Regions from separate parts of the Homo sapiens genome. Here region 2 is linked to region 1. The links are contacts of gene promoters, found by promoter capture Hi-C in human tissues and cell types (Jung and others, 2019). All regions are on one chromosome and are shown on one strand. The core of a region is centred on a gene start or on the middle of the fragment in contact, and the rest is flanking DNA. Distances in the headings are between cores, read along the strand shown. Region 1 holds the start of DPH7 (diphthamide biosynthesis 7). Region 2 overlaps CACNA1B (calcium voltage-gated channel subunit alpha1 B).

Region 1 (4,517 bases), core at 944-3,443:
ACAAAAAAATAAGCCGGGTGTGGTGGCGGGCGCCTGTAGACCGAGCTCTTAGGGAGGCTGACGCAGGAGAATGGCGTGAACTCAGGAGGCGGAGCTTGCAGTGAGCCGAGACCGCGCCACTGCACTCTAGCCCGGGCGACAGAGCGAGACTCCGTCTCAAAAAAAAAAAAAAGAGGCATGGTGGCATCTACCTGAAGTCTGAAGTCTCAGCTACTCGAGAGGCTGAGACAGAGAATTGCTTGAGCCCAGGAGTTCAAGGCTGCAGTGAGCTATGATCACGTGACTGCATTCCAGCCTGGGCAACGGAACAAAACCCTGCCTCAAAAAAAAAAAAATTAAAAAGGATAAAAACTGGTACACCTGTATAGGGCATCTCCATTACGTTAAGGCACCACCATGGTATACGTGCTCCATTGTTGACCAAAACATAATTATGCCACACACCACTGCATTTAAATCTCAGCTCCAAAAGTGGGCTAGAGCCTACAACTGTGTTCTCAAACAAAAGACGCCCCAGGTTATGAAGTCAGAAAACTCCCATCACTTCCCCGGCTGGAACATGACAAAGGAAATAAGCCCCAGGTAAAGCACTCCCCAGGTGGAAGATAGGCGGGACAGCAAAGAAACAAATCCAAAGTTGAGATGCAATGCCTGTCTTGTTGAAGGCATCAGGCATCAGGCTTCCCTGATTGCTACTCATGACAAATTCTACACCCAGTGGGATTATCACAGTTATACCATTTCATGTCCAGGATTGCAGAAGTATCTTTTCTTTGGACCTCGACCAGAGGGTGAATAGAGTTGTTGTCATTGAAACTGTACAGGAAGAGACGGCCTAAACGGACCTGAGGCTCCTTAACTTCCATTCCACCCTACAAAAAATGCAGAGGTAGTCTCTGATTATCCCAAGACACGAAGGAACCCAAAGGATGGGAAAAGGGATCCAAGGAACTCAAAGGTTTGCCATGACTAAAGGAGTGGAATTCTGCCTGGAAGGAGAACCTCTGGTTTTCTGAGCTGGAGAAACGTCTATTAATGAGTAGGTGAACACTCCTGGACCCAGTAGAGAAGGCTCCTTCTAAACCGGCCAACAGGGACCAGCTATGGCTAGGGTAACCACAGAACCCAGTTTGCCTGGGACAGTCCTGACTTACGCCTGTTGTTCCAGTGCCCAATTTGGATCCTAATATGTACCCACCAGAAGTTAAGATATAATTCCCACTTTCTCTTTACTGTACATTCCACCCATTCCCTTGGGCCACACCTGTATATAGAAGACGTTCTGCTCTCAAGATTTTAAAGTTGGCCGGGGGCGGTGGCTCGTGCCTGTGGTGCCAGCTACTCAGGGGGTTGAGGCGGGAGGATGCCCTGAGCCCTGGAGTCCGAGGCTGCACTCCAGCCTGGGTGACAGTGCAAGACCTTGTCTCAGAAAAAAGTAATTTCTTTTTTTTGAGATGTAGTCTTGCTGTATCGCCCAGGCTGGAATGCAGTGGTGCGATCTCGGCTCACTGCAAGCTCTGCCTCCCGGGTTCACGCCATTCTCCTGCCTCAGCCTCCCGAGTGGCTGGGACTACAGGCGCCGCCACCACGCCCGGCTAATTGTTTTGTATTTTTTTAGTAGAGACGGGGTTTCACCATGTTAGCCAGGATGGTCTCGATCTCCTGACCTCGTGATCCGTCCGCCTCGGCCTCCCAAAGTGCTGGGATTACAGGCGTGAGCCACTGCGCCCGGCCGAGAACAATTTTTTTAAAAAGATTCTAAACTGTTTCCAGCCTACCTCCTGGCCAAAGGGCCAATATCCCCTCTTCATCTCCTGGGCGATTCGGTGCGCCTTTCGGCCTCAACCTCGTGGCCGGCCCCGCCCTCCCCTCCCGAAGCCGCGGCGCGCGCACCTTGTTCTGGGGGCCGGCAGGCCGGTCCTCCGGCCGCCGCAGCTGGTAGGTCCCGCACGCCAGCAGGTGCCTGCAGCCTTGCAGCGGGCACCACTCCACCGAGTCCGCGGTCAGCTCGGTGTCCACCGTTTGCAGGGCGAAACAGCCCATCATCCAGCCCTCGGGGAAGGGCGCGGAGCCGGCAGTAGAGGCGGGTCGGCGGGGCCGGGCTGGGTACTGCGCGGGGCGGCGAGGCCGGGGCCGGCCGGACGAGCGCAGAGCCCCAGGGACACCGTCAGCGCGGGCCGCCTCTCTCGCGACTCCTTCCGGGGTGCCGGGGCGGGACATCCGGCAGGGCCTTGGCCTCCGTGGACGCCCCTGGGAAGCCAGGCTCCCACGCCCCCTGTCGGCCGGCTGACCGCGGCGGGCTTCAGGCGTCAGACGCGCTGCTCCCTGCGGGGCCGTAGAGACCGAAGGCTTCGGGAAATCCGCTCCTCCACAAAGCAGGTTTGGAGACGGCAAGTTAGTGACAGAGCCGTAGGTTTGAAGCCGCCTCTGCAAAATTTCTATCACTGAGAAAAACCCCAACAGCGAGCTGCGGTAGCGCACCCCGTGGCGCCCTCCCGGTTACTCCTGGCCATCGGGCCGCGCTGACTTAACATTTAGGCTGCAGTTTCCATGACAGGCCTTGCCCCGGAATCAACGCCTTCGTAAAGCTGATGAGGAGCCCGCGCCCCACTAAGCCCAGCACCCCGAGGCCGCAGGCGCGCTCTGCCTGCCTCCTGTGAACCCGCCATGGCGGAGCTGCCCCTCAGAGACCGCCTTCCAGGGTCTTTGCTTGTCTGACACCCGTGGCTGCATCAGGACCCCCCAGAAGCGGCTCAGCAGGTGGACGGCTCCGACCCCTATGATTATCAGCACCAGTCGCCTGGCCGCCGCCCCCCTCCCCCAAAACTGCCTTTGAAAAAACCCCTAACCTAGGAGCTTTGGACAAGATGATCTGAGGACGAACTCCATCTCACATGTGGCCTGGCCGGCCCGTGTCTATTAATTTTTTTGTTTTTTTTTTTTGAGACGGAGTCTTGCTCTGTCACCCAGGCTGGAGTGCAGTGGCGCGATCTCAGTTCACTGCAAGCTCCGCCTCCCGGGTTTAAGCCATTCTCCTGCCTCAGCCTCCCCAGTAGCTGGGACTACAGGCGCGCATCACCACGCCCAGCTAATTTTTTGTATTTTTAGTAGAGACGGGGTTTCACCGTGTTAGCCAGGATGGTCTCGATCTTCTGACCTCGTGATCCACCCGCCTCGGCCTCCCAAAGTGCTGGGGTTACAGGTGTGAGCCACTGCGCCCGGCCCTAAACTTTTTTTCTTTATTGCAATCCACGGTCTGAATGTGTGCAGCGGGCAGGAAGAACCCCTTGGGCCGTTACAGGTTGAACTGTGCCCCCCAAAAAACAATGGACTGAAGACCCCAGCACCTCAGAGAGCATCCTTAACAAACAGGGGCTCTCAGAAGCAGCAGGCGTGGGCCCTGACCCAGAGGAGCAGGAGTCCGCAGAAGAGAAAGCTGATGCAGAAGACTTGCAGGGCCATTGCTGTGCAGAGCACAGGGAGGCAGGCAAGGCACCTGGCAGGGAGGAGGCGTCCGCACCTGAGGGCCCTTGCCTGCGCCTTCATCTGAGACTCCGGCCTCCAGAGCCTAGACTGTGAATTCCCGCTGCTTCAGGCTGCACAGCTCGCGCTGCTTTGTTGCGGCAGCTCCAGGAAGCTAAGGCGGACTTGACTGAAATATACGGGTGCCTGGGTATTCAGCCTCAGGGCTTCAAGCAGGGCTGTGGCTAAAGACATGGCAGAGAGCCAACAGCTCAGACCACCACAGAGACAGAGGCGCAGAAAAGGCTGGCCAGGAAGGCAGCAGGGCATTCCAAAAGGGCCTCAACCACACACCTCTGCGGGGGAGGGAGAGTGACCAGGTGCGCATCCCAACACACCACACTCCAAACAAGCTTTAGAAGCAGCCCCACATTGCAGCCATCTGGATGTCCTCACAGGACGTCTTAGATACCTGGCTACGAAGACCAAGAAGTCGGGGCCACGGAACGGGAAAGATGACCAGAGGATTGGGTATCAGGTGAGAGGGAAGCAGTGGTGGGGCCCGTCCCACCCTCACGGTGCCACCTGCTGGGGTGAGGCCTGGAGGAGCTGCCACATGCAAACCTAGAACCTGCACCGCCCCCTTCCCCAGCGTGGTGTCTCACAGGTGGGAGGCCCTGGGCGCTTCTTTCAGTGCACTTTTCTGATGAATGACTGCCAAACAAAGCAGCCCTGCTGGTCAGGGGCAACATGGCCACACCCCTGGATGCAGGTAAAGGGGACCCCTGCACTCCGTGCTCATCCTCAGACTCTATCTGAAAGCAGGCTGCCTGAGGGCACTCGGGGCTCCAGGCCTGAAGACTGCCCCAAACCCCAACCTGCTGACCCGCCATCTCTAGGGACACATATGTCCCCCTCCCTGGCAGCTTTCACCTACTCAGCAAAAAATGTCCCCAACCTTTGCAGCAGCTAAGGGGGCTTCTCAGGGCCTGATGTGGGCACATGCAGTTCTCTAAGCTCCAGGAAATCCTGCGGAGTTTGTTGATATCACCCAT
Region 2 (4,358 bases), core at 1,750-4,249, 350 kb after region 1:
TCACTGTAGCCTCAATTTCCTGGGCTCAAGTAATCCTCCCACCTCAGCTTGGGAGAGTAGCCAAGACCACAGGTGCACACTGCCAAGCCTGGCTAATTTTTAAATTTTTTGTAGAGATGAGGTCTTCCTGTGTTGCCCAGGCTGGTCTCAAGCTCCTGGGCTCAGGCGATTCTCCCTCCTCAGCCTCCGAAGTAGCAAGGACCACACGCGCATGCTACCATGCCTGGCTAAGTTTTTAAAACTGTTTTTTTTTGTAGAGGTGGGGTCTTGCTATGTTACCCAGACTGGTCTTGAACTCCTGGCCTCAAGTGATCCTCCCACCTTGGCCTCTCAAAGCTCTGGGATTACAGGCATGAGCCACCGCATGCAGCCATTGTTGAGCATCTTTTATGAGCCTATTCATCACTTGTATATCTTCTTTGAAGAAATGTCAGCTGGGCGCAGTGGCTCACGCTGGGGGTTTAGATGATTATTTAGACTTCCTTCTTTTGTGAGGTGGACATGTAGGTCTATATGTTTTCCTCTGGCACTGCTTTAGCTGTGTCCTGCAATTTGATGTGTTGTCTCTTCACTTTCATTCAGTTCAATGTATTTTTAAATTCCCTTGAAATTTCCTCTTTGACCTATGAGATTATTATATAGAACTGTCTTGTTTACTTTGTGTTTGGAGAGTTACCTGTTATCTTTCTGTTATTAATTTCTAGTTTGATTCTATTGTGGTGGGAGAATACACTAAACTGAAAGAATTTTAATTTTAAATTTGTTGACGTTTGTTACATGGCTCGGAATATGGTCTATTTTGATATTTATTTTGTGGGCACTTGGAAAGAATGTATATTCTGCTGTTGTGTGCTGCATGTACAGATGTTGATTGATTCTTTTGGTTGATGGTGTTGTTGAGCTCTTTTATATCCTTGCTGGTTTTCTGTCTATTCTACAAATTGTTAAGAGAGAGGTGTAGAAGTCTCCAGCTTTAATTGCAGATTTGTCTGTTTCTCTTTTCAGTTCTGTCAGTTTCTGTATCACTTATTTTGCAGCTCTGTTGTTGAGTATACACATATTTAGACTTGCTATTTTTTTTTGATGGATTGACCTTTTTATCATTATATACATGTTTCCCTGTGTCTCGGGTAATTTTGTTTTACTGGGAGGTTTGCTTTATCTGATATTAATCTAGCCACTCCAATTTAAAAAAATTAATCTTTGTATAAATCTTTTTTTATATTTTTACATTTTTTTGGAGACAGTCTCACTGTCACCCAGGATGGAGTTTAGTGGTGTGATGGTGTGCAATCTCAGCTCATTGCAGCCTCACCCTTCCACACTGAAGGAATCTTCTACATTAGATGGTATTATCTGGGGAGGGTCTTGACTACGAGTTGTCCAGGTTCTTGGCGGTTTGAACAAAGAATTGCACAAGATGCACAAAGCAACAAAGGAATGAAGAAATGAAGAAATGAAAGCACAGATTTATTGAAACAAAAGTACATTCCATAGTGTGGGATCGGGCTCGCGTAAACGGCTCAAGAGCCCTGGTTACAGAATTTTCTGGAGTTTAAATACTCTCTAGAGGTTTCCCATTGGTTAGCTGCTTACACCCTGTGTAAATGAAGACCAGGCCCTCTACCATTCTGATTGGTCATGGGAGGCGACCAATCAGGTACTTTCCATTTTTCGTCTGCGATACAGTGGAATGGGGGGCGTTGCAAAGGGAGTAGCCTCTTCTTTTGTTACTTGGATGTGGAGAGGTGGAGTTTTCCTTTTGATTTAGTTCTAGGAAGTCAGCACAAATCGGCCTTAGGTTCCTTGCCTCCAGACCCTATTCTCCTGCCTCATTTCCCCCGAGATGTGATCCCCATCATCTTTATAGGAGGCCGAGGGACTGATGGTTTTTTCTTCAGTAACTGCTTCATGCTGATTTGGGCACAGTTCCTACCTATTGGGGATCATGGAACTCTCACCCTGCTCTGTCTAGTGGAGACATGGTAGTTGCTGGATGGCCAGGGGTGGTGTCTTTACCTGGAACTGGCTGGAAACCTTGTCTCATGATCATCTGAAGCTTGATGGTCTCTGGGCGAGAGGAAATGAATTTGTTTAAGAGATTTAATGAACATGGTCCAAAAACCAAGGCAAATATAGTCATTAGTGATGGGCCGGCTAGAGGAAGGAGCCATGCACCTCAACTTAGCATTTCTGACCAGGAGCCCCATGACTCAGACAGCTGTTGTCGTATCTTAGGGGCCCAGTCAGCTAATTTCCAGGCGGCATCCCTTACTAATCCTGATTAGTTGACATAAAAACAGCATTTTTCCTCTAGAAAAAGACATAAGCCACCTTTTTAAGCAGTTAGGAGATCCAGTCCCCTTCAATTCTGTAAAGTGACTGCTGCCAAGGAGTCTGTCTGATTTTGTATGGCGACGATACTTTGGGCAGTGTCTTCTGAGCTTTCCATAAAATCTCTGGACAAGTTAGTGATAGGATAGGGAGATTGCAAGCCTGCTAACTCCCGTTTCTACTCTTGCTGTTCTTCCTAACCCAACCAAAAGGGGTGTGAGTTGGATGGCTCATTTGTGTCTGGTGGTTGCAGTTAAAGGTATAGTGAAGAATTGGTTGTTGGGAGCTACATTAATTTTGGGAGCTAAATAACAAGTTACAGGTTCCAGTCCAGTTGGCTGGTAAATCTAAGTAGGAACTGGTCCCGCACGGGAAAAAGGCTCCTTGTTTTTCAAGACAGAACTTGTTTTCTATGGTGAACACATGGGCTAGCTTGTTGTTTTCACTTTCCCATATGGTTGAGGTCTTTGCTAAGGTGGCCCTGGTTAAAGGCTGGAAAGGATCTTGGGAAGTATCTTGAGTTGCCCCAGCAGTTCTCTTTTCCCAGTGGAGGTAGTTAGGCTTAGTGTCCAGTAACAATCACCCAGAGGTATTTTCATACTGGGGAACCAAAAGGCAACTAGACGTCTCAGGATTAGTACATTCTTCACAAGGGAAACCGTGAATGCAGCTAGTGGGCCTGCCTCGACCATACTTAGGCTGTCCATCCTTTAAAGCCCTTAACCAGGGATGGTTTCCATGAAAACCGTACAGGTTATCTAAATGATGCGGTTTGGGTAACTGTATAGCTTACGTAATCGAGTGAAGGATTAACTTCCAGGGTGTAGTTGCATTGATGACTTTATTTTATCTTTACTTTTATTTATTTATTTATTTATTTATTATATTTTTTGAGATGGAGTCTCTCTCTGTCGCCTAGGCTGGAGTGCAATGGTGCGATCTCAGCTCACTGCAACCTCCACCTCCCAGGTTCGAGCGATTCTTCTGCCTCAGCCTCCTGAGTAGCTGGGACTACAGGCGCGTGCCACCACGCCCGGCTAGTTTTTTGTATTTTTAGTAGAAATGGGGTTTCACTGTGTTAGCCAGAATGGTCTCAAATCTTCTGACCTCATGATCTGCCTGCCTCGGCCTCCCAGAGTGCTGGGATTACAGGTGTGAGTTTTTTGTATTTTTAGTAGAAATGGGGTTTCACTGTGTTAGCCAGAGTGGTCTCAAATCTCCTGACCTCATGATCTGCCCGCCTTGGCCTCCCAAAGTGCTGAGATTACAGGTGTGAGTCACCGCGTCCGGCACATTGATGACTTTTCAAGGTTCCAAGGACCGGACCAGAATTTTCGCTTCTGTTAATACAAAGTGGCACCTGCAATTTTAGCTCTGTGTACATTTATATTGGGCCCCAAATTGGTTTCTGAGGGGATGCAACTCCAGAAAGGTTGCTCAGATGGGATTGGAGTAGGTTTACTGCTTATCCTGTCATTGTAACCCTTGTCATTTCCATGATTTTGAATTCATGTATGTCATCCAGGCTCATTAGTTTGAAGAGAGTTCCTCCTTTGTAGTTAGGGTGATAGGTCATTTCCTTAAGGGCCCAAGATTGGGCTGGGATCAGGATGGCAGTATATTTAGATGATGATGGAGATAAACAAAACCAACAGTCCTTTGCCAGGGCTGGGCTGGTGGTATTTAAGTCTTTGTGTTAAATTTAAAGTTCTTAATAAATACCCAGAATCCACTAATTGCTGGAGGGGTAAAGGGAAGCTCTGTTGTGAAATAAAGCTGATTGCTAGTAAGACATGGTTCCTGTATACACAGGCTGTGGGTGACCATTATGGAACAAAAAAAAAATTACTTATTTGTTATTTTGTCCTATAGAATGGGAACTTCAGGGGGTGGATACCTATGCTGTCAGGAATGCTTGTTATAAAAATGAATTGAAACACTTTGGTTAATTATTACAAAGGAAGTGATTCCATCCATTTTGAATAAAACAAATTGTAAAAATATAAAAAATAGCTACCAATATC

Evidence for each region. The method cuts DNA at HindIII sites, captures the fragments that hold promoters and counts their contacts. A contact is called where the count stands out against the background at its distance.
Region 2: a contact is called between a fragment that was not itself captured here and the fragment with the promoter of DPH7 in region 1, in 2 of the 25 tissues and cell types used here (H1 embryonic stem cells and dorsolateral prefrontal cortex).

Annotation. Positions count from the first base shown.
Region 1 is chr9:137,576,732-137,581,248 of GRCh38, forward strand. DPH7 (diphthamide biosynthesis 7) reads right to left here and starts at 2,194. Exons shown (of 9, transcript NM_138778.5): 1 at 1,894-2,194; 2 at 739-872. The coding sequence starts at 2,046. RefSeq lists a silencer at 1,880-2,289 and enhancers at 2,474-3,445, 2,540-2,599. The HindIII fragment of the contact is 7,311 bases long and covers 1-4,517 here.
Region 2 is chr9:137,929,725-137,934,082 of GRCh38, forward strand. All of the region lies in intron 6 of CACNA1B (calcium voltage-gated channel subunit alpha1 B), which reads left to right. Among named protein-coding and RNA genes, the nearest start is that of CACNA1B-AS1, 15 kb to the right of the region's middle. The HindIII fragment of the contact is 9,868 bases long and covers 1-4,358 here.